Regions from separate parts of the Homo sapiens genome. Here all the other regions are linked to region 7. Evidence: promoter capture Hi-C in human tissues and cell types (Jung and others, 2019). All regions are on one chromosome and are shown on one strand. Each heading gives the region's core, a stretch centred on a gene start or on the middle of the fragment in contact. The rest is flanking DNA. Distances are from core to core; before and after follow the strand shown. Region 1 holds the start of EXOC3L1 (exocyst complex component 3 like 1). Region 2 holds the start of DPEP3 (dipeptidase 3). Region 3 overlaps NUTF2 (nuclear transport factor 2). Region 4 overlaps DUS2 (dihydrouridine synthase 2). Region 5 overlaps PSKH1 (protein serine kinase H1). Region 6 holds the start of LCAT (lecithin-cholesterol acyltransferase). Region 7 holds the start of CTCF (CCCTC-binding factor).

Region 1 (3,233 bases), core at 687-3,186, 370 kb after region 7:
GTGGGTGCAGCCGCAAAACTTCAGGGACCAGTAGCAAATGTCCAGCCTCCGAATAAGACGAAAACTACCTGGGTAGACCGGGGAGTTGGGATGAAGTTGGGGAGGAATGAGAAGGGCGTCAGTGGGCCGCCCTGGCAGTAGAGAAGGGGACGCCATCGGAACTTTCCTTGCCAATCTGCCCCAACATCACTAACTCTGCCTAGTCCCCATCTTGGGAGAGGAGACCACACTACCTGACTAATCCAATCTGCTCCCTCAAACCTGTTCCTTTTCCATTTTTTTCTCTTTATTTATTCTTTTATATATTTCAAACTCATTTTACTGCCACATCAAACCTGTTCCTAAAGGCTGCCCTACTGTCTTGGGGTCACCCCATCTATTCCTATCCCTCACTTCCTGCCAAACAGCAAGCACTAACTATATCTACCTTGTCCACCTTGTTCCACCCATGGTCCTAGCCTCATCTTTCGCTCGTCTTGTCCTCACAGTACAGTGCTCAGAGACTATGGGGTTATGAACACTTCAGCCAATGCAAACGTGTTTACCTATGTGTAAATATCAGTAAAGCACTCAGTCATTCCTGGCATGCAGGAATGTGTGATACGGTCATTTTGTAACTTTTAACATTGTTACTATTTATTATTGTTTCTTTTAGATCAGGTCCTCTGGGAAATGGGACTCGAGATAGGGTTTTGCAGCAAGTTTGTTGGGGATCCACACTTTTTTTTTTTGAGACAGGGTCTCACTCTGTTGCCCAGGCCGGAGTGCAGTGGCAAGATCAATGCCGTCTCAGCTTCCTGGGCCCAAGCGATTCTCCCACCTCAGCCTCCCAAGTAGCTGGGACCACAGGCATGCACCACCATGCCCGGCTCATTTATTTTTAGTTTTTTAGAGATGTGGGTCTCACTATATTGCCCAGGCTAGTCTTGAACTCGTGGGCTCAAGAGATCCTCCCACCTCAGCCTCCCAGAATGCTGGGATGACCGGTGTGAGCCACCGCACCTGGTCAGGATCCACACCTTTAAGGGATTAAGACAAGCAGAATTGAGCAGATGCAATTATATTATAGGCCTCAGCCTATCCCACTAGGATCTCTGAAATTGGGGTAGCACTTCTGAAGGGTTCATGTTCACACGATGGTACCATGCTTTTGCACCCCAATATTGACTGAGAGACTCAGTGGTGTGATCTCAGTAGCCTACACTCCTGGCAGCTGGAGAATGAGCACTTCTGTCCTGAAGGGTGGATTTGGGTGGTGGACTGAACATCCACTAAATAATTACCACCTTATAGTCCCTTCCCTGGCTCCCTATAACTCTCAAGATAAACACAGCTGCCCAGTTGCGGTGACTCACGCCTGTAATCTCCCAACACTTTGGGAGGCTGAGGCAGGCAGATCGCTTGAGCCCAGAAGGCTGCAGTGAGCTATGGTGGTGCCACTGTACTCCAGCCTTGGTGACAGATCAAGACCCTGTCTAAAACAAAAAAGATAAACACAGCTTTCATGACCCTCTCCTACCACCCCCCACCACACCCCTCTTCACAAGAGCCTGCCACCTCTCACTCCTCCGCAGAGGTACACATCCTCCTCAGAGGCTGGCCAACACAGTTTTCATCCTGTGCTGTTGATGTCGTCTGCATCCATATCTGCACACTCTGCCCACCACCCCAGGTTGAGGCCAAGTCTAGCAAATCCCTATCTCCTCTCCTGAGCACTAAGAGGTTCTGGGTAGGCTGGTCAAGACTGGTTGAGTACAAGTACACCCCACCCCCCCGCCCCTCAGGGAAGTGTCGCCCAGCTGTCCCCACCCTCTGTGCAGACACTCTTTCCTGTTGGGAATAAAATGCCAGAGACTCAGCTTCCTTCCTTTCTGTTGATGGCCTTGGGGAGGGAGGAGCCTCGGTGGGAAGAAGGGGCTTCTGGGTGGGGAGTGGGAGAGAGACTTCCTTGGGGAGAGGAATTCAGCTGCACGCTGGAGTCAGCTGGAGTTGCCCAGGCCCTGTGAGCAAGTGGCAGGCGTGCCCAGCTGCATTGGGGAGAGGGCTGTTCTCAAGGCCAAGGTCATTTTTGGAGGGAGAACTGGACGCCTGATCAAATCTGGTAAGTTCTGTACCAAACTGTCCTGTGCAGCTCAGAGCAGGACCAGGGTCCAGTGGAGGCCTGTGCCCACTCTGTCTCGCTTGACATCTGCAGGGGCACGACTGGGAAACCTAGCAGGCAAAGCCTCCCAGGTGCCCTCCGCATCACACCCGCTCCCTCTCACTTCCCGAGGGGGCCGGGAAGAACCTCCTTCCTCCTCTCAGAAGGGCTTAGACAGAGGCAGCAGCTCACAGGGGCATCTACTCTGCCTGCTTGCCCCGGGCCCACCTCAGCTCTGGCTCCTCCAGGCCCACAATGGACTCAGCAGCCAAGGATGAGATGCAGCCGGCGTTGTCCCCTGGTATGAACCTTTTGGGTGGACTAGGGGAGGAATGATGGCAACAAAGATGGGACTGGCTGGGCGCAGTGGCTCACGCCTGTAATCCCAACACTTTGGGAGGTCAAGATGGGCAGATGACCTGAGGTCAGGAGCTCCAAACCAACCTGGCCAACATAGTGAAACCCCGTCTCTACTAAAAATACAAAAACTAGCTGGGCGTGATGGCACGCGCCTGTAATCCCAGCTCCTCGGGAGACTGAGGCAGGAGAATCGCTTGAACCCGGGAGGCGGAGGTTACAGGGACCCGAGATTGCACCACTGCACTCCAGCCTGGGCAACAGAGCGAGACTCCATCTCAATAAACAAATAAACAAACAAATAAATAAATAAATAAATAAATAAGAAAGCTGGGACTGGGGTCGTTGGGCCCTCCTCCCTGACTACACGGCTGCCCAGGCTCTTCCTTCCCAGGACCTGAGTGGCCAGAGCAGGAGCGGGCAGAGCAGCTGGCCCGGGGTGCAGCGCTCAAGTGGGCCTCAGGCATCTTCTACCGGCCGGAGCAGCTGGCCAGGCTAGGCCAGTACCGCAGCCGCGAGGTGCAGCGTACCTGCTCCCTGGAATCGCGCCTCAAGGTGGGCATGGGGCAGGGGGTGCGGGTGCTGGGACTGTGCTGCAGGGCTGGCCCAGCCTCATGGCTCCATCTTTCCACAGTCAGTGATGCAGTCATACCTGGAAGGCGTGCAGACTGGTGTGTGGCAGCTGGCCCAGGCCATTGAGGTGGTGCAGGGAACCCGGGAGGCCCTGAGCCAGGCC
Region 2 (3,239 bases), core at 648-3,147, 420 kb before region 7:
CCTCACTGCCCGGGCCGGCTGGCCGCTCCGAGTGCGGGGCTTGCCAAGCCCACGCCCACCCGGAACTCGAGCTGGCCCGCAAGCGCAGCCTGCAGCCACGGTTCCCGCCCACGCCTCTCTCTCCACACCTACCCGCAAGCTGAGGGAGCCGGCTCCAGCCTTGTCCAGCCCAGAAAGGGGCTCCCACAGTGCAGCGACGGGCTGAAGGGCTCCTCAAACGCGGCCAGAGTGGGCGCCAAGGCCGAGGAGGTGCCGAGAGGGAGCGAGGGCTGTGAGGGCTGCCAGCACGCTGTCACCTCTCATTTTTGTGTCTGTATACTAACATATATATAGAAAAAAATATTCGGCCCGGTGCGGTGGCTCACGCCTGTAATCCCGGAACTTTGGGAGGCCAAGGTGGGCGGATCACGAGGTCAGGAGATCAAGACCATCCTGGCTAACACGGTGAAACCCGGTCTCTACTAAAAATACAAAAAATTAGCTGGGCATGGTGGTGGGCGCCTGTAGTCCCAGCTACTCGGGAGGCTGAGGCAGGAGACTGGCATGAACCCGGGAGGCGGAGCTTGCAGTGAGCAGAGATGGAGCCACTGCACTCCAGCCTGGGTGGCACAGTGAGACTCCGTCTCAAAAAAAAAACCACGTCTCTAAAAAAGAAATAAGGCCGGACGTGGTGGCTCATGCCTGTAATCCTAGCACTTTGGGAGACCTAGGTGGGCAGATCGCTTGAGCTCAGGAGTTCAAGACCAGTCTGGGCAACATGGTAAAACCCTGTCTCTAAAAAAAAATGCAAATATACAAAAATTAGCTGGGCATGGTGGTGCATGCCTGTAGTCCCTCCCAGCTACTTAGGGAGCTGAAGCAGGAGGATCACTTTTACCTGGGAGGTCGAGGCTACAGTGAGCTGAGATGGTGCCACTGCACTCCAGTGAGACCCTGTCTCAAAAAAAAATTTGTTTTAATAAAATAAAAAATAACAATTAGCCATGCATGGTGGCACTGCACCTATAGTCTCAGCTACTTGGGAGGTGGAGGAAGGAGGATCGCTTGAGCTCAGAAGTTCAAGGCTGCAGCAAGCTATGATCAAGGCTGCAGCAAGCTATGATCACCCCACTGCAACTCCAGCCTGGGTGACAGATACTCTGTCTCTTGGAGAAGGAAAAAAAGCTAAAATAATGATCCCCAACAAAAATTGTTCTTAAATTTCATTTTCGGGGCCGGGCACGGTGGCTCACGCCTGTAATCCCAGCACTTTGGGAGGTCGAGGCAGGAGGATCACTTGAGGTCAGGAGTTCAAGGCCAGCCTGGCCAACATGGTAAAACCCCATCTCTACTGAAAATACAAAAATTAGCTGGGCATGGTGGCGGGCACCTGTAATCCCAGCTACTCGGGAGGCTGAGGCAGGAAAATGGCTTGAACCCGGGACGTGGAGGTTGCAGTGAGCCGAGACTGCATCATTGCACTCCAGCCTGGGCAACAAGACCCAAACTCCGTCTCAAAACTGAAATGAGATGAAATGAAATAATGAAATGAAATGAAATGAAATGAAATGAAATGAAATACCTATAGGGAATCTTTCTGTCCATCAAACCAGACAGACCGAATTAACTCTTCTGAGTCGCAGCTTAGAATATTTGACCTGCCTAGGAGCTGGGCACAAGCCGGCAGCTAACCGCCACGTGGGCCTGGGTAGGAGGTGAGATCAGGAAGATCCCTGGGCCCCTACTAGTTCCCTGCCTGGCCTCCTCCCCCACTCGTGTGGGGGTCTACGGAGCCAGCGCTGGGGGTGGAAGGGCGAGGAGTCCTCGACGCTGCAGCGGCGGTTCCGGCCCATGGGGGCGCTCTCCTGCTTGGGGGCGGAAAAGCCGTGGCGCCCCCTTGCGTGGCGCGTCGGTCTCAGAGTCGCGTGACTTCAACCCCCTCTTCGGGAGGCTGGGTCGTCATGATCCGGACCCCATTGTCGGCCTCTGCCCATCGCCTGCTCCTCCCAGGCTCCCGCGGCCGACCCCCGCGCAACATGCAGCCCACGGGCCGCGAGGGTTCCCGCGCGCTCAGCCGGCGGTATCTGCGGCGTCTGCTGCTCCTGCTACTGCTGCTGCTGCTGCGGCAGCCCGTAACCCGCGCGGAGACCACGCCGGGCGCCCCCAGAGCCCTCTCCACGCTGGGCTCCCCCAGCCTCTTCACCACGCCGGGTGTCCCCAGCGCCCTCACTACCCCAGGCCTCACTACGCCAGGCACCCCCAAAACCCTGGACCTTCGGGGTCGCGCGCAGGCCCTGATGCGGAGTTTCCCACTCGTGGACGGGTATGTAGGTGCAGCGTTTGGGCAACGCGGGGTGAGCACACCCTTGGGCAGGAGAGGAGGTTCTGAGCATGCTATCAAGGAGGCTATCAAGGAGGCTCCCTCACACCACCCCTGGATGCCCTCTCTCCTCCATCACCCATGGGTGCCCTTCCCCGCATTACTCCATTCCTGGTGGAATCTAACCCCCTCCCTCCAACCCAACCTCAGGAGGTCTCTATATGGTCTGTGTGAGGAGGTGCCTGGTGGGGTGGAGGAGGGTAGACCCAAGCACCTGATATATCCTGACTGATCTGGAGGCGGTGTTTCCATCTGACCTTCACACCCCCAGCCACAATGACCTGCCCCAGGTCCTGAGACAGCGTTACAAGAATGTGCTTCAGGATGTTAACCTGCGAAATTTCAGCCATGGTCAGACCAGCCTGGACAGGCTTAGAGACGGCCTCGTGGGTGCCCAGGTACCACAGGGACACACAGGGTGCCACAGCATGGCTGCTGGGGGATGTTGGGGTCACAGAAACCTGGGTCAGCCAGCCTCTGGGTGACTAAATACAATGGGGCATGCAGTGTGCCATCATGTGGTTTCTAAGGAGAGTGGGGCCTTGGAGGCCAAGACAGGCTAGCTGCATGTATGCCCAGGTTCTGTGGAAACACGCAGAAAATGACCAGAAAATCCCTGGTGAGTGTGGGGTCTGCCGTAACCACAAAGGACATAGTGGATTGGCCTTGGGGCATTCACATAGCACATGGACTAACAGCAGTTTTTTGCTTGTTTGTTTGTTTGCATTTTTGAGACAGTGTCTCCTTCTGTCGCCCAGGCTGGAGTACAGTGGCACGATCTCGGTTCACTGCAACCTCCGCCTCCCGGGTTCAAGCAATTCTCCCTGCCTCAGCCTCCTGAGTAGCTGGGATTACAGGCACTCGCCACCACGCCCTGCTA
Region 3 (3,090 bases), core at 176-2,675, 300 kb before region 7:
AACCAGAAGAAACAGCACCAGCAAATGTCCCGGGGCATGAAAAGGGTCTCGCTCTGTCCCCCAGGTCAGGGTACAGTGATGCCATCTCATCTCCCTGTAGCCTTGACCTCCAGGACTCAAGCAATCCTCCCACTTCAACCTCCCAAGGAGCTGAGACTCCAGGCAAGCACCACCACGTCTGGCTGCTTTTTGTGTTTTCTGTAGAGACCAGGCTTCACCATATTGCTCAGGCTGGTCTCAAACTCCTGAGCTCAAGTGATCCACCCAGCTTGGCCTCCCAAAGTGCTGGGATTACAGGCGTGCACCACCATAACTGGCCTGTGATAACTTTCTGATACAAAAACTCCTTGACTGAAGTGGTGGTGGAAGGAAATGGGGTGGAGGGATAAAGGAAGAGAAAGACCCTTTGGCCTGGTAGGGCAGAGAAGAGTGGGGAAGAGTAAGCTCTCTGAGGAATAGGACACATCAGGGGCTCCCAGAAAATGACAAGGAACCTTCAAAACTATGTGGGATTGAGGCCTGCTTCACTGTCTTGTGTTTATTTCCAAGTAGTGATCACAACAGCCACATAGTCAGAATCCACTGTCATCCAGTGATGTCGCTGGGTCTTGCCCTAAGCTCACCTGGTACATCAGTGCTGACACTGGGTCCTCTGGTCAAGGCCCGTCTCTTTTTTCTGCTAACTCTGCATCCCTGAGCTCTAAACCACAAAGCTGACCATGCTCCTCCCCTACAAACACCCTTGCTTTTGGCTTAAAGGCCAAACTCCCTAAGCTCCACAGGTGGCCATCCACCCTCATCCCCATCTCCCTAAGCCATTCCCTCCTACCTCGATCCAGCTACATACAGACACAACAGAACCTACCGAGAGCCTGCTCACCATGTTTTGTACACAGGAAAGTCCCCTCCTGCGATCCCCACCCTTCCCACGGGAGGCAACACTCTTGAGTCCAAAAAAAGAAGCAAGAGTGCAGAGCCCCCATCCTATCCCCATGCAACATGAGGGAGGGGTCCAGGCCAGGCTGGAAGATGTTCCCCAGAATAGCCAGCAAGCTCTGATCTTGTTTCTAACACATTTACTGTGCAAGTAACAGGCTGGAAACAAAAAAGCCCGGGCTCAGAGGCAGCCTCACATTAGACTGGGGACTGACCATCATGACAGCTTCTCCTACAGCTCTTGTGAGAGGGCCGCTGACCACACCATCTCCTGCTTCACCCCAACAGTCCGCAGGCTGAGGCCAGGCTCCTTGAGGAGCAGAAAAGACTCTGATGACCTCTCACCCACTGAACACCAGCCTTCACTGACCCTTAGGTCTCTGTGAGTGCAAAGACCCTCCAAGAATGTCTCAGCAACTGTGGCCCTCTCCCAACACATTTGCACAGAGGTAGAGATGCCCCAGCCTTGTGAATAATTTTCAACTGTTCAGCCATAGATCCCAGGTTAAAACCTCTGACCCAGGAGATCCCGTTAGACAACAGAAAAACTCCATTTTTATCTTCCAATTTTAAGTGTTTCCAAGAACAAAACTCAAAATAACTGTCTGGCTGTGAACACTTCATTTTCACTAATGCATATGAGGCACAGAAATGTGCAAAGAGCTTATGTGCACTTGTTTGTAACCACACCCTGTGAGTCAACCCCCTTGTTAGAGATGACCAAAAGGAGATTCAGCGAGGTTAGCCAACTCCAACTCGCTCTAGGTCAGCAGCTGATAGGTGGTGGAATTGGACTGACCAGATTTGGAGGCCTCTCCAGAGTCAGGACTTCTAGTGACAACGTGGGCCTGGAGACAAGAACAGACTACATCAGTGAGAGCACTCCTCTGAGCCTGGCTCTCTCAGAAAGGGGCAAGGCAGTCCTGAACCAGGGCTTCCACCTCCAAACAAAGGCCTCAGGCAGAAGAGTTCCACATCAAACCTAGAGTCCAAACAACAGGAGTTTTCATGGAGGATGATGTCAGCTTTCTCAAACCTTCGAGGTCACAACCCTGTTCTACCATCTCAGCAAAGCAGACAGAGCAGACAGAGATCCTAGCCTGAGGCAGGAGAGTGATCGAGAAGACGCTATCACTCCTTCCAGACTGGCACACAGAAAGATTCTCATGTGTCTGCTGAAGCCCACAGGGAATGCCAGCAGATTTGCATGGCCTACAGTGAGGGCCCCAAAATTGGTACCAGTCGTGGCTATCCTCCACACATGCTATCACGGAGGCCAAAAACACAGCCTTGAGGCACAGCCTGGAAAGGACTCCTCCAACAGGGAAACTGATAGCCAACATGGCTTAAACCCCTCAGGCCCAAGGCTGGGCATAGTAGCTCACATCTGTAATCTCAGCACTTTGGGAGGCCCACGCAGGAGGATCACTTGAGTCCAGGAGTTCCAGACCAGCCTCAGCAACAAAGCCCCATATCTACAAAAAATTTTAAAAATTAGCCGGGCATGGTGGTTCACTCCTTTAGTCTCAGCTACTCAGGAGGCTGAGGTGGGAAGATCACCTGAGCCTGGGAGGTCCAGGCTACAGTGAGCTGTGAACTTACCACTGCAATCCACCCTGAGTGACAGGGCAAGACTCTGCCTCAGAACAAACAAAAAGGCTGGGCATGATGGCTCACACCTGTAATTCCAGCACTTTGGGAGGCCAAGGTGGGCGGATCACAGGGTCAGGAGATCAAGACCATCCTGGCTAACATGGTGAAACCCCGTCTCTACTAAAAATACAAAAAATTAGCTGGGCGTGGTGGCAGACACCTGTAGTCCCAGCTACTTGGGAGGCTGAGGCAGCAGAATGGCGTGAACCCAGGAGGCGGAGCTTGCAGTGAGTGGAGATTGCACCACTGCACTCCAGCCTGGGCAACACAGCCAGACTCCATCTCAAAAAAAAAGAAAAAAAAAAATAATAAAATATCTGGCCATGGTGGTGTACACCTGTAATCCCAGCTACCCGGGAGGCTGAGGCAGAATTGCTTGAACCCGAGAGGTGGAGGCTGCAGTGAGCTAAGAACGACCCACGGCATTCTAGCCTGGGTGACAGAGTGAGGCTCCATCTCCAAAAAAAAAAAAAAAAAAAAAAAAAAAGGCCTGGCGCAGTG
Region 4 (3,490 bases), core at 200-2,699, 490 kb before region 7:
ATGACCAGAGGCTTGCACAAACCTAACCCTTTGTTTACCCCAGGGTCAATGGTTCAGTATCCGCTCATTTGATGTTTAAAGCAACTTTATAGAAACAACAACGGTGCATAATGAGAAGCAACTGTATTTTATCTGTCAGCTTCCTAAAGAAGCTCCACAATAGGTGCTACCATTACTAGCTTTCAAAGATCACTATACATGAAAAAGACTGAACGTGGCAGATGGGAGAATATGCCTACCTCAAAGGCTGTCTTGAGAAATAAATGAGATCTTTGATGCACTTAAAGTATTTCCATACATGGATGGTTTTATTATCATCCAGCACTAAACAGATGAGAAGGTTTTTAGGGTGGGATAAAGGCAATGACATGTTGAGAGAGGTAATCAAAGTGATCACTGACAGAGACAGCTCATGACTGGCAGTAAGAAGTATGAGAGAAGAACCACAAAATATTTGTGTGTTTATAATGCAACTCTGTTTATAACAGCAAAATACTGGGAACCCCTGTTAAGGCTCTGGTAAAATCAATTCTGACATAGTTGCCCCTAGGTACTGACATGGGCAAATGACCTAGTAGATAAGTAAATGGCAAAACAACACGTGTTGTATGATCAAATGGGGTGGGGAGATAGATAAATATAGATATAGATATAGATACAGATATAGATATAGATACATTTTTTTTCCTTATCTTCAACCTAGAAGAGGGATATATATAAACACGTCATATTTTGTACACACACATTATTTACTATATGTATAGAAAAACATACATTATTCCTCTCTCTGATTACCTCTTTAGGTGTAGGATTATGGAGGATTTTCATTTTCTAGGTTACACAGATCTATAATATTGAATTTTTTATCACACAGAAAAAAATATACACATTTAAAATAGTTCGGCCAGGCATGGTGGCTCACACCTGTAATTCCAGCACTTTGGGAGGCCAAGGCAGGCGGATCACGAGGTCAAGAGTTCAAGACCAGACTGGCCGCCATGGTGAAACCCCTTCTCTACTAAAAATACAAAAATTAGCCGGGTGTGGTGGCGGGCACCTGTAGTCCCAGCTACTCGGGAGGCTGAGGCAGGAGAACTGCTTGAACCTGGGAGGCAGAGGTTGCAGTGAACCAAGACCGCGCCGTTGCACTCAAGCCTAGGCAACAGAGGGAGATTCCGTCTCAAAAAAAAAAAGATTTCACAAGCATATACGTATGTATCAGAAAACTCAAGGAATATACCACAACTCTAATCAAAGCAGAATCAGCCTCATCAATAAAGTATCAGCAAAACTACAATTCATCACAATCACATTTGCACAGAGCATAGGGCGTCCACAGTACTTACATGTACCTTATCTTATTTGGTCCTCACTCCAACCCTATGATTGAAGTAAAGCAAAGACTATGATTTCATTTTACAGATAAAGGAACTAAGGCAGACAGAGGTCATATGGCCTGCCCAAGGTCACACATCTAGCAAGTGGCCAAGCCAGGGCCAATGCTAAAGCCATCCTGACTCCAAGGCTCCTAGAGTCCCTCCTATGCTATGATGCATGGTGATTTCTATGCCAGCAAGCCTGTGAGTGAAAGGCACTCTCAGCCTGTTTCACATCAGGCTTTTTGTCATGGCCTCTGGAGATCAGTGACTGCTCTCAAGGGAGCATGTGATCTATAGAATTACTCAATGAAGCCAGGCAAGACACTGTCACCCCAGGCAAGGGCAGTGGTAGTGCTGCTTGAGCCCAGCAGGGCATATGCATAATTCTGGAGCCAGATCTGTACTCACCATTAACAACTCTCTTGCACTGAATCATCTTGAGGTCGATCAGCTCCTGCAGAGGAATCAGAGGACGCTTGTCATTCCTGAACATGTAGGCTCTGGGCATGAAGGATTTTCATCACACACCTAATGAGGATCGCTTGGCCAGTCGCCCTACTACCAAGAACAAACCACGGCTTTTGGGACATGTAGTGCTATTCTCCCCACCCAAGCATGGCAAGCAGGAGCCAGAGTGAGCTACTCTCAATTAGCTGTCCTTCCCAGGAAACTTGGAGATGGTTGGGGCCTAGAATGAATGAACCACTTAGCCAGAAAGACAATAATCATTCAGGATGTATTCACTTGGAAAATTTCCTCACCTACTGGTCTCAGCAGAAGCCCACCCCATCAAAGAATATCCCACCTATCCCTCAGCAAAGGGCAGGCAGTGAAGGGCTCCCAAGAAACATCCAAAAACAAAACTGGAACCAGAGAATAGAAGCAAAGGGAGGAAGATCTGAGATGAACACAGGAAAGAAAAGTCTAAAACCCCTATCCCACATGGGTCACACTATGTGGAAATGAAAAGGGCGAGGTCCCCAACTCTGGAGATACTCAAACAGACTAAGGAAAGAAAGAAAAAGGGGGGTTCTTCAAAATCACATCATAAATGGAAGAAAACCTCCTATGTGCTGGAGGACTGAGATTCTCTAATTCTTAGTTGGAGACAAGACTGTTCTGCTTTGTTCAGCAGACACCTGTCACACTGCCCAGAAGTTCATGCCCATGGATTCTGGGGGTCCAGAAAAGAAAAGAAGAGGTGCTTACTCCTGGTACTAACCCCCATACTGACTCCCTATGAGCCCCAGCAAGTCACAACCCCAGCCAAGTGGGCACAATGACCTCCTACTCACTCATCGGAGTACCTAGGGACAATGGCCAAAGAATCCTCATAGTATCCATGGGACTTCCCGCAGCATACCCACCATCAGATTAACAAATGCTCTAGGTGTTTCTGTGGCCATTCTCTCCATGCAGTATTCAGGTCATCAAATATCTGATGACCACTAGGCCTGAACAAACAAATCACCACAACTAAGCAGTTTGGACATGGTTGACATCCAACCCCCAAGAATCAGTGTGGCATCCCAAGGGATGGGCAGAGCCCAACTCAGAGCCCCAGTAGCCAGTGATCCTAGTTGCAGGGGAAGGCAAGTAGACAAGTAGGAAGCACTGAATGGCCTGTGCTTATAAAAAGAAATTCAGTAGCCAAACTGAGCTTTGGTAGGGACTAGAACAGGAAAAAGTAAGACACGTACCACATCAAAGATTGGGAAGTTCATTGTTTCCAAGTATTTACGGAAATCTCCATCCAAATATTAGCTAACAATTAAGCTAACCCAGGAGAACTTTATAGGCCACACATGGCAAAGAACACAGGCCTTACAAAATTAGTTCAGAATAGTCACTAAGCAAACAAACAACAACAAACCCTGGCCAGACATGATGGCTTATGTCTGTAATCCCTACACTTTAGAAAACCAAAGCAGGAGGATCACTTGAGCTCAGGAGTTCAAGACCAGCCTGGGCAACAAAGTGAGACCTTGTCTCTACAAAACATTTTTAAAAATTAGCCGGGCGTGGTGGCATGTGCCTGTGGTCCCAGCTACATGGGATGCTGAGGCAGGAGAATCGCTTAAGCCCAGATGCTCGAGGTTGCAGTGAGCTGT
Region 5 (3,081 bases), core at 1-2,500, 360 kb before region 7:
TTTTAAAAAAGAAAGCTCCATGGTTGCCTCCTGAACACAAGGAACCACTACTGGGGGCAGCCAGTCCAGACCACAGACATTCACTGTAGCCCCCATCACCCACCGGAGAGACAGAAAGAAGCTTGATGGAGACAGCACACACACAGCTGAACAGAGTGGGTCAGGGGACACCTCTGCTGCCTGCTGGCCTTCTACAGTCTCCAGGAAGAGGAGGACTCACTAGGAAGCAGGCTGCAGCTCAGTCTGGCCTGTTGCTGGAACAGCCCCAAGACAGGGCTGACAGCCCAGGGTGTCCCAACAGGGCTGGGAAATGGATTCTGCCCCTGCCCCTTGGTCCAGCCAAGACAAAAGAGGGGCAACTCCCCTACAGAGGCCAGGAGCCTGAACATGGATGGACTGGAGGTTTCACCACTTCACATCCACACCCAGCGAAACCGTGGACCTGAAACTCCAAACCAGTCACCAGTGCAGTCTTGGAGGGGCCTCTCCCCAGACCAGCCCTATGGTCTTAAGTGTCTCCATCTTCAGAGTGGCACAGGCTCACACCAGCAGGCATCAACCCCTGCTGCTCATGGAGCGGCCGGCCTGTTAGTGCCAAAGCGAGCCAGATTGATCCCTCTCCCCGCTGCTCCCCAAGATTCTCGCCTCACCAATTACTGTGGGCATGTGGCTGTGCGCAGAATGCAGATGGACTCATTTGTCTGAGGGCTGGCCTGGCCTCTCTGGCAGGTCCCAGCTCTTCCCATCTTTGAAGAGCTGTGAGCAGCTAGGCCAGGTGGGTCCCCCAAGCCAAAGTGACTCAAGTCGTCCTGAACTGGTCCCCAGCCTAACCCTTGTACACAGAGGAAAGTCAGGCTGAACACAAGAAGGTGGTCCTCATCCAGCTGACAGTGAGGCAGGGGCTTAGGGTGACCTTCAGAATAGCAGCCTCTGGAAGCCCTGCTGAGGCCTCCCACAGGGCTTAGAAAAGTAAGGCTTTCCACACTCGCCCACAGCCAGGCTTCAGGCCTCACATCAACTCAGCACCTCCTAAGAAAGCACTCAACGCCAGCAGCCCAACCCACCTGCTTCCCCTGGAGCCACGTAAGTATGTGTGTCAGCCAAGGGCTGACTGGCTGGGAAGCATTCTAAGCAGGAGAAAAGGGAAAATGATGAATAGTCATGCTCTTCAGTCTCCACAACTCTGTTTGTTCTAGGTGAAGAACTGAACTCGTGCCTCAGTATACTTATTTGAGCCATACCAGGGACACACATGGCCTCAGTTGGCTGACAGATGGCACAGGTGCCAAGACCCACCTGGGCAGTCTCTGAGGCTTCCACCTGCTTCTGGGCCGACGTGGAGCACGAGGCACAGAGGGAAACACTAAGATGTCAGCTGGCTCTACGCCCAGACTCTCAGGTCTTCCCTTGCTCTGGGATCAGAGAACAGCTTCCATACCCAGGGTGACAGCCTCCACTCTCTCCTTTCCACAGTCTCTGGGCAAGTCAGTGGCTCACACCTCTAATCCCAGCACTTCGAGACACTGCTGCGTGAGTGAGGGCTGGGTCCTGCTTCAAGAGGAAGACAAGCAGGGGCTGTAGGAGGAGGGCATCACCTCTGCTCTGATTCTGACCATCAAGCTGGCTGCCTTCCTCCTGAGTCCATGGCCCTCAAAAGAGTCCTTTTCCCCTTGCAGTTAGGGTACCTGCTCCTGATGTTGGAACAGCAAAGATGCCAATAATGGGTATGGGAAGCGACCTCTTCCGTGAGCACCTCCTTACCAACTAGCCTTCCTCATCCCCCTACCCATGCTGGGCCAAAGCCACTCCTAGGCAGTGGAGTCCTACTCCCCCTGGAGAGGGAGAGGCAGCACAGCAGGAAGGGCTTTCCGCTCCCGCCTGAGGACCCCCCGCACCAACCCTTTTCGTTTGCTCTAGCTCTAATGTCTGGCACAAGGGCCTGGCATGAACACTACCCAAGCCACTGCCAGCGGTCTCACCTGGAGCCTAAGGGCTAATGAAACAAAGAACAGCGCCAGCTCTCTAGCAGAGGCTGCAGACAGAGGAGGAAGCTGCTTCTTTCTGGCAGCAAACACAGCTTACAGGGCGGCCCTAGACTTCCTCTGGCAGGCAGGGCTGCCTACTGGCAAGTGAGGCTGGGAGAGAAAGGCCCCTTGGTGTGTCTTCTGAGTGGCATCTGGGATACGTTAAAGGGTTAGATTGCAAGCCCAGCAACCTGAGTTCTAGTTCTACCTTCTCTGTCGGCCTTAGAGAAATCACACCGCCTTCACTTTTAACACGAGGAAGGGGCTGAATGTCATGAACTCTAAGTCCCTTCCAGTTTATAAACTCCTGGATTCCTTTTTCTCCACCTTTTCCTTCACGTGGCCACATGTGAAGCGCAGAGTTTAGCATTTAAGCTGACCTCTTGAGCCCTGGGTTCCTTATCTAACCAATGATGATTCTGGGGCAGGCTGGCTGACAGAGGAGGTGGCCCCACCACAGTGCTTCTAGAGAAGGGATGGGAAGGGAGGAAGAAGCCTGGGCTTTGCTACCATGACTCAGTTCTTCCCTCAGCTCTATTTCAAGATGTATTTTCAGACCCACTATTCCCACCTTCAAAGGCCTCCTTTCTGTACTTACGTGGGCCTGAATGAGAGCAGAGAAAAGGGCACAGAGGAAATTCTGGAAACAGAGCTTTGAGTTTACTCAGGAAAGCAGCATGACAACAAGAACGGCACCCTGTCATGCTGCCCACGACGAAGAGCATCAGCAGAATTAGACACTGTGTGGCAGCAGAGCCAGCATCCCCTCCTGTGGTCAAAAACCCATCATCCTGGTGCCTGGGCTTCCAGACCAGACAGAATCTACCACCCTGGGACTCGGCAGAGGGCGGGTGAGGGGCAAGCAACAGAAAAGGGAAGGGTGTGGGGGGAGAGAGCCTGAGGAGAGAAATAGAGGGAAGATAATGCAGTTTTAAAAACAAGTAGAGAATTAAAAAAAAAAAAGCAGAGAATAAAGATTAAAATGAGAAAAGGTGTGACAACTTAAAGGTTAGTAAAGCTGTGTTCTGAAACTTGAAATGGATAACAAAATGAAATC
Region 6 (3,103 bases), core at 604-3,103, 380 kb before region 7:
CGAGGTGGAGGTGGTGGAGATGGTGAGCCCTCTGCCCTGCCCTGGCCCCGTGGATACCATGTCCCGTGCAGCTGGGTCCTCACGGCCAACCCTGTCCCCAGCATAACAGTGACATCTCTGCATACACCTACGAGCGGACGCTGATGATGGAGCAGCGGTCGCAGATGCTGCGGCAGATGAGACTGACCAAGACTGAGCGGGAGCGAGAAGTCAGTGCCCTTTGTGGTTCACGCCAGGGCGGGTGGCAGGGTCAGGCCTTTGGAGACCGCATCGGTGGGTGCGGAGGAATCAGAATGACTCACCGCAGCCCTACCCAAGCTAGTGCTCATTTCCCGGAGGCAAGGTGGTCACATTGGGCCAGACAGGCCCCATCCCCCTTTTCCTATGGGACCAAGGCTATCTCCTGCAATTGTCCTCAGGCCCAGCTGGTCAAGGATCGGCACTCGGCCCTGCGGCTGGAGAGCCTGTACTCGGACGAGGAAGATGAGTCTGCAGTGGGGGCTGACAAGATCCAGATGACGTGGACCAGGGACAAGTACATGACTGAGACCTGGGACCCCAGCCATGCCCCTGACAATTTCCGGGAGCTGGTGCACATTAAGCCGTGAGTGCAGCAAAAACAGCCCCAGCGGCACTGGAATCTAGGGGTGGAGGTGGGGTGGGGCAGACAAGTAGTGTTAGATGGGCCAGGGGTGGGGACCCTCCTTGCAGGATGGCTCATGGCGACCTGTGACTGGCTACACTACGTGTAGGGACCAATCCAATGTGCGGCGCATGCACACTGCTGTGAAGCTCAATGAAGTCATTGTCACGCGCTCCCACGACGCCCGCCTGGTTCTCCTAAACATGCCTGGCCCACCCAGGAACAGTGAGGGCGACGAGAACTGTATCCCTTTGTGGAGAGGCAGGCAGTTGGGAGGTGGATAGCATGGGAGGTCAAGCCAGCGGCTTCTCTCCTGGGCACCCCTGGGTGGGCATGGCCCAGGTGGCCCGGGTTGCCCGTTGATTCTGTTGTTGCCTCCTTGACTTGAGGCCCTGCAGACATGGAGTTCCTCGAGGTGCTGACCGAGGGCCTTGAGCGGGTGCTGTTGGTGCGCGGTGGTGGCCGTGAAGTCATCACCATCTACTCCTGAGCCCAGTGTCATCTTGTGGCCTGGAGTCGAGGTCTTGGCCAGGACATAACAAGCTGTGGTCTGGGGTAACAGCCTCTTCCCAGCACCCACCTGCCAGCCCTGCTTGCCTGGCCCTGTCCTGGACCCAGCTTTGCTAGGTCTCCTTGGAAACCAGGCCTGGGCCTCAAAATGGAGATGGATCCCAGGTCTTGTGGGACCCTGGGATGTTTGGGGACTTTACTATCTAGCACCCCAGTAGGCCTGTCCTGGCCAGAGAAGACTGGTAGGGGCCGAGTGGGGTTTGAAGGCAGCCGGCCCGGCCCAGCCCAGGAGCGCTATTTATTGCATATTTATTGTTTGGATGTCACCATCAGAGACGAAGGGAAGGGTAGCCAGGGAGGGAGTCCAGCCCAGCTGCCTGCAGGAAGATCTGGCTCAGTCTACTATGGGCAGGGCCCCCCACCAAGCTGAGCCGAATGGAGACAGCTGAGCTGAGGCCTGACTTTTTCAATAAAACATTGTGTAGTTCTGGGCCTCCTGCTGCCCCGGCTCTGTTTCCCCTGGCGCCAAGAGAAGAAGGCGGAACTGAACCCAGGCCCAGAGCCGGCTCCCTGAGGCTGTGCCCCTTTCCGGCAATCTCTGGCCACAACCCCCACTGGCCAGGCCGTCCCTCCCACTGGCCCTAGGGCCCCTCCCACTCCCACACCAGATAAGGACAGCCCAGTGCCGCTTTCTCTGGCAGTAGGCACCAGGGCTGGAATGGGGCCGCCCGGCTCCCCATGGCAGTGGGTGACGCTGCTGCTGGGGCTGCTGCTCCCTCCTGCCGCCCCCTTCTGGCTCCTCAATGTGCTCTTCCCCCCGCACACCACGCCCAAGGCTGAGCTCAGTAACCACACACGGCCCGTCATCCTCGGTAAGCCCCCACCAGGCCCCTGATGCACCACGCCAGACCCTGGGGAGCCTGGGCCCCAGCCCCTGGCAGCTGACCTGGCCAAAGCCCTTCTGCCCTGCATAAGCCCCGACATAAGTACCTGCCCTGGTGTGGGGAGGGGCCAAAAGCTTGTCCCTTAGAGGAATGACGTCCCTTCTCCCACCACACTGTGACTCTCAGTTGTCTAACCCAGGGGGGGCGGAGTGGGGGACGGGGTGTGCCTGAGGTCTTGGCTGGGGCATCACAAGCTGTGGTCAGTCACAGCCACACCAGACTCTGGGCCAAGCCCCACCACTCCTTCCTTGGCCCCCACCCACCAAGGACAAGATGCCCAGCCCAGGATCGGTGAGCAGGAGAGGCCCATCCATGCCCGGCCCCTATTAGGCCCAGCCCCCATGCCCCCAGACCTATCTGTTCCCACCTTGGACTTTGGCAATAAAGGAGCGCCAGACTGGGTGTTTGCTCTGCAGAGGCAGGGGTCAGCGGCCTTGGCCTCAGCACCTCAGCGCCTTCCCTTCCTCAGGGAAGCCTGGGCTTTGGCTACTGGGGGGACAGCAGGGAGAGGGGGTGTAAGCAGGGGAGGGTAAGTGTGCTTTGTACCTGGGGGTTGAGGGTATGGGAGGTGGGGGGTGGGTCTGGTCACTGCAGCATCTGGGGTGACGGGGGTAAGGGTCACGGGGGGAATCCAGAGTCCAGAGTGAGGGCTGCTGCTCACAGTGCCCGGCTGCCTGGGGAATCAGCTAGAAGCCAAGCTGGACAAACCAGATGTGGTGAACTGGATGTGCTACCGCAAGACAGAGGACTTCTTCACCATCTGGCTGGATCTCAACATGTTCCTACCCCTTGGGGTAGACTGCTGGATCGATAACACCAGGTACAGCCATGTGCTCCACCCTAGCCCCAACACGCTGCCCCTTGGCTACTGGCTGCTGAGTGGCACCCCCGCCCCGCAGGGTTGTCTACAACCGGAGCTCTGGGCTCGTGTCCAACGCCCCTGGTGTCCAGATCCGCGTCCCTGGCTTTGGCAAGACCTACTCTGTGGAGTACCTGGACAGCAGCA
Region 7 (3,510 bases), core at 92-2,591:
GAGTTGCACAATCCTGGGGCAGAACCGCCTTCACCTAGCCCTAGAGCATCAGGTACTAAGTTAGTGTGAGGACATTTTAAAGCGGGAGGGAAACTCAAGGGACTTAGCCCATACTCCCAAATTCAGAAATTTGTCACGTCACTTGAGATCAGAATGAAATTTAAGTTTCAGTCCCTTTGAGATCTCTGAGCGCACAAAGTCAGGCTGCTATCACTCGGCTGGGGAGTCCGAACCCGGCTGGATAAAAACTACTTGGTGCGGAACTCGCATCTTTTCCGCCCACCGTGGGGGGGCCGCACCGGTCGGGTCCGGCCAGGAACCCGGGCGCGAGTTTGGGGGCGCAGCGGGGGCGGCGAGCGCGCGTCCCCCCGCCCGCTCAGGCAGCGTAGAGGTGCGAGCAGCTCAGCCAGCCTTGCAGAGGGAGCTCTCGGCAGCTCTGGGGTCCCTCTGCTCGCAGCCGCTGCAGCGCCGCCTGCGCCACTCGGCGGAGACGGAGACCAGCGGCGGCGACGCGCGGACTGGGAGCGACCGCCGAGCAGCCAAGCAGCTGGGAAGGCACGCAGGCCGGCAGGGTAGGTTCCGGGGACGGGGCTGGCTGGAGGAGGGGCAGCCCGAGACGCGACGGCCAGGGCCCGACACCCATACGGCACCGGGACCTGGCTTAGCGCGCGGCGGCAGTCGGTCCGAACCCTTAAGCTAGGCGGGCGCCGAAGCCGGGACGCGGAGATAGTGTCTCAGCTGGGGCCACCCGCCGCGGGAGGGGCGGAGGACACAGGACAGAGGGCGGGCCGCGGCCGGGCGATCGGCCGGCCAAGAACCGGCCTCGAGGGCAGACAAAGGAAGGAAAATGGAGTCGCCGGGCGCGCGGGCCTCTGCCTCTGCCGCCGCCCGAGGCCTAGCGCGCTGCCAGGAGGGAGGCCTAGCGGGCGGGCGGGCGGGCGGGCGTGGGGGTGGGGGGGGCGGCCGGGCCACGGCGGCGACGGGCAATGGCGGCGGCCGCGCCGCAGCAGGGACGGTAGAGGGAGACAAACACCCCCCGGCGGCGGCGCTGGCGCCGGGCTGCAGCCAGCGCCGACCGGAGCGGCCCCATCGTGACACCTAGAGGCGGCCCGCGAAACCTCCTCCACCCCGGGCCCCCTTACCTCCGCGCCACACCCCCCGCGGCGCCCGCTCCGCCGCCGCTCCACGGCTCCGGCCACCCGGCGTCTCCGGCGAGCTCCGCGCGTCCGCACCGGCCACCGCCGCCGCCGCTGCCGCCAAAGAAGCAGCTCCGCGCACGGTTTAATCGCTCCACAGGCTCAGACACAAAATGGCGGCGGCGCGGTGCAGTGCGCCTGCGTCGGCGCTGCCGGGGCCGCGGGTGCTGATAAGGGAAGGGACGGGTGGGGGGACCGGCCGGGCGGCGAGTAGAGGGCGGGGGAGGAAAGGTGAGGGGAGGGGTTGGCGCAGGGCAGCATGGGAGGCGGCCCCGGGCGCCAACTTTCAAAAGCGGGCGCGATGGCGTCACGGGACGCGCCGCGAGTCGCGTCGTCACGCCGCACGCGCCCTCGCCGGGTCGCTCGTGGGCTCTGCCGGCGCCGCGGCGTCCTGGCTCCCGCTGGGTGGGGCTTCCTGGGCGGAGGCCGCCGCCCCTGGGCGGTGCCGGATCCAGTCCGCTTGACCTTATTCCCTAGCTGCTGTCTCCGGCCCCCTGAACCCGTACAGGGTTGGGGAAGTGGGGGTGGCTGGAGGAAGCGCGCGCGGGGCAAGCCAGTGGGGCTGAGGAGGCTCCCGGGCCCGGCCCCGCCCAGTCTCCGCCCCAGCCAGGCCCGACCCGCCCTCCGAATGTCTTACAGCTGCCCGCCCCAGAGTAAGGCCCGGTCGGTTCCCGCGCGCTCCCAGCTCCGTGCCCGCGAGCGACGACTGGAAGGGCTGTCCTTGCTCAGCGGCTTTTGGTGATCTCTCCGCCCTAGAAGAGGGCCACCTAAAAGCGGGTGCGAGAGGAGAGTGGGAGGGCCTCCTCTTGGTGTCCCCAGGCCACCTCAGCCCGGAGAGGTGGCGGAAAACCAGACTTGATGCTTTAACACGTTCATAGCAATCGCTTTTTACTGAAAGGAGTTTCTGTATTTAGCGCTGTGTAATTCTGTGGAAACGTGCATTTCTTGTCTTTGCGGGAGAGCTGTTCTCTGTGGGCGGAGACCTTCAGTCCCACCCCTCCCCAGGAGGCGCCTGCGGACCCTTCCCAACCTGCAGTCAAGTTGACCAAGAACTGACTGCAAGGTGCTGGTGGCTCTGGGATGAGAGCCTTTTGGTACTTACAGGGAATATGACTCTTCCCTTAGATATCAAATGGACCCAATATCTAGGGAGCAGCTTCTTCTCCATCCATCTGACCGTTCCGTTGTGAGAATGCTGGCCCAATAACATACTCTTTTTTTTTCCCCTAAAGGAATAAAAAAATCTGTATTTTTAAGATGTCAAATCTCCAGAGTTTTTAGATGTTAGCAACTGAATCAGATGTTTTTAAACTTCATGAGCTGATTAAACCACACAGATGAGCTGTCAGTTTACGACCCCTGGCTTGGCTTGGAGGAAAGAGTGAAGAGAAATTCCATGGCCAAATCCTGGGGCACTCCAATATTGGGAGGGTAATGGAGAAGGAGTCTGAAAGGCAGCATCTAGGAAGTCATGAAAGCTAGCGCTGAGTTGTGGAATCCCTGGGCAGAGAAGGTTTCAGGTAGGAGGCATCAGCTGAGCGGTGTGATAAACTTGGGCCAGAGATGTGGCTATTGGATTGGGTCACCTTGCAAGTCACTGGAGAATGTCACTGATGGCCTTGGCTTGATTCACGTGAGTATATCAGGGAGGTGGACCTGACCGGAATGGGTTAAACAGTCACCAGGAAAGTGAGGAAATGGAGACAGCACATGTATGCAATTTGAGAGAGGTTTTGCTGTGAAGGGACCAGATAAGTTTGGGGATAGATATAGAAAGAAATCTTTTAAAAGATAGTAGGGGCCGGGCGCAGTGGCTCACGCCTGTTATCCTAGCACTTTGGGAGGCCAAGGCAGGTGGATCACCTGAGGTCAGGAGTTCGAGACCAGCCTGGCCAATATGGTGAAACCCGGTCTCTACTAAAAATACAAAAATTAGTTGGGCATGGTATCGCGCGCCTGTAATCCAAGCTACTGGGGAGGCTGAGGCAGGAGAATTGCTTGAACCCGGGAGGCAGAGGTTGCAGAGAGCCAAGATTGGGCCACAGCACTCCAGCCTGGGCAACAAAGCGGGACTCCATCTCAAAAAATAATAATAAATAAAATAAAAGATGGTAGGGTTCCCAGAGCATGTTTATGTGCCATTGGGAGGGATATGGTGGGGAAGAAAGATGGGTGATCCAGGAGAGAGGAGGCTTGCTTGACCTATATAGGAGTGAAATCCATCAGAAGATATAAGGAAACAGGGAGGGTTGACCTTGGAGAGGAACAGGGATGCTTCCATTCATGATAAGGGCAACAAAGGTGAAGACAGATG

The links. The method cuts DNA at HindIII sites, captures the fragments that hold promoters and counts their contacts. A contact is called where the count stands out against the background at its distance.
Region 1: a contact is called between the fragment with the promoter of EXOC3L1 here and the fragment with the promoter of CTCF in region 7, in 1 of the 25 tissues and cell types used here (spleen).
Region 2: a contact is called between the fragment with the promoter of DPEP3 here and the fragment with the promoter of CTCF in region 7, in 1 of the 25 tissues and cell types used here (adrenal gland).
Region 3: a fragment that was not itself captured here is called in contact with the fragment with the promoter of CTCF in region 7 in 1 of the 25 tissues and cell types used here (mesenchymal stem cells).
Region 4: a contact is called between a fragment that was not itself captured here and the fragment with the promoter of CTCF in region 7, in 1 of the 25 tissues and cell types used here (bladder).
Region 5: a fragment that was not itself captured here is called in contact with the fragment with the promoter of CTCF in region 7 in 1 of the 25 tissues and cell types used here (spleen).
Region 6: a contact is called between the fragment with the promoter of LCAT here and the fragment with the promoter of CTCF in region 7, in 1 of the 25 tissues and cell types used here (IMR-90 fibroblasts).

What each region holds. Positions count from the first base shown.
Region 1 is chr16:67,188,839-67,192,071 of GRCh38, reverse strand. EXOC3L1 (exocyst complex component 3 like 1) reads left to right here and starts at 1,936. Exons shown (of 14, transcript NM_178516.4): 1 at 1,936-2,101; 2 at 2,389-2,441; 3 at 2,892-3,052; 4 at 3,132-3,233. The coding sequence starts at 2,396. RefSeq lists enhancers at 1-95, 1-194. The HindIII fragment of the contact is 11,498 bases long and covers 1-2,983 here.
Region 2 is chr16:67,979,157-67,982,395 of GRCh38, reverse strand. It overlaps DPEP3 (dipeptidase 3), which reads left to right and starts at 1,897. Exons shown (of 10, transcript NM_001370198.1): 1 at 1,897-2,302; 2 at 2,631-2,757. The coding sequence starts at 2,016. RefSeq lists an enhancer at 2,073-2,573. The HindIII fragment of the contact is 8,829 bases long and covers 1-3,239 here.
Region 3 is chr16:67,859,782-67,862,871 of GRCh38, reverse strand. All of the region lies in intron 1 of NUTF2 (nuclear transport factor 2), which reads right to left. Among named protein-coding and RNA genes, the nearest start is that of EDC4, 12 kb to the left of the region's middle. The HindIII fragment of the contact is 3,954 bases long and covers 1-3,090 here.
Region 4 is chr16:68,047,848-68,051,337 of GRCh38, reverse strand. DUS2 (dihydrouridine synthase 2) reads right to left here. Exons shown (of 17, transcript NM_017803.5): 4 at 1,788-1,833. Among named protein-coding and RNA genes, the nearest start is that of DUS2, 26 kb to the right of the region's middle. The HindIII fragment of the contact is 5,487 bases long and covers 1-3,490 here.
Region 5 is chr16:67,921,880-67,924,960 of GRCh38, reverse strand. The region is part of intron 2 of PSKH1 (protein serine kinase H1); the gene reads right to left. Among named protein-coding and RNA genes, the nearest start is that of CTRL, 8.4 kb to the left of the region's middle. The HindIII fragment of the contact is 5,571 bases long and covers 1-3,081 here.
Region 6 is chr16:67,942,870-67,945,972 of GRCh38, reverse strand. It overlaps LCAT (lecithin-cholesterol acyltransferase), which reads left to right and starts at 1,853. Exons shown (of 6, transcript NM_000229.2): 1 at 1,853-2,025; 2 at 2,761-2,917; 3 at 2,997-3,103. The coding sequence starts at 1,872. It overlaps SLC12A4 (solute carrier family 12 member 4), which reads left to right. Exons shown (of 24, transcript NM_005072.5): 20 at 1-22; 21 at 102-209; 22 at 420-604; 23 at 753-886; 24 at 1,042-2,499. The coding sequence ends at 1,133. RefSeq lists an enhancer at 2,722-3,103. The HindIII fragment of the contact is 35,269 bases long and covers 1-3,103 here.
Region 7 is chr16:67,560,357-67,563,866 of GRCh38, reverse strand. It overlaps CTCF (CCCTC-binding factor), which reads right to left and starts at 1,341. Exons shown (of 12, transcript NM_006565.4): 1 at 1,143-1,341. It overlaps CTCF-DT (CTCF divergent transcript), which reads left to right and starts at 1,558. Exons shown (of 1, transcript NR_158165.1): 1 at 1,558-2,456. It overlaps LOC124903703 (a long non-coding RNA gene), which reads left to right and starts at 417. Exons shown (of 2, transcript XR_007065094.1): 1 at 417-572. RefSeq lists silencers at 270-369, 890-1,899 and enhancers at 123-985, 2,130-2,179, 2,200-2,249. The HindIII fragment of the contact is 9,573 bases long and covers 1-3,510 here.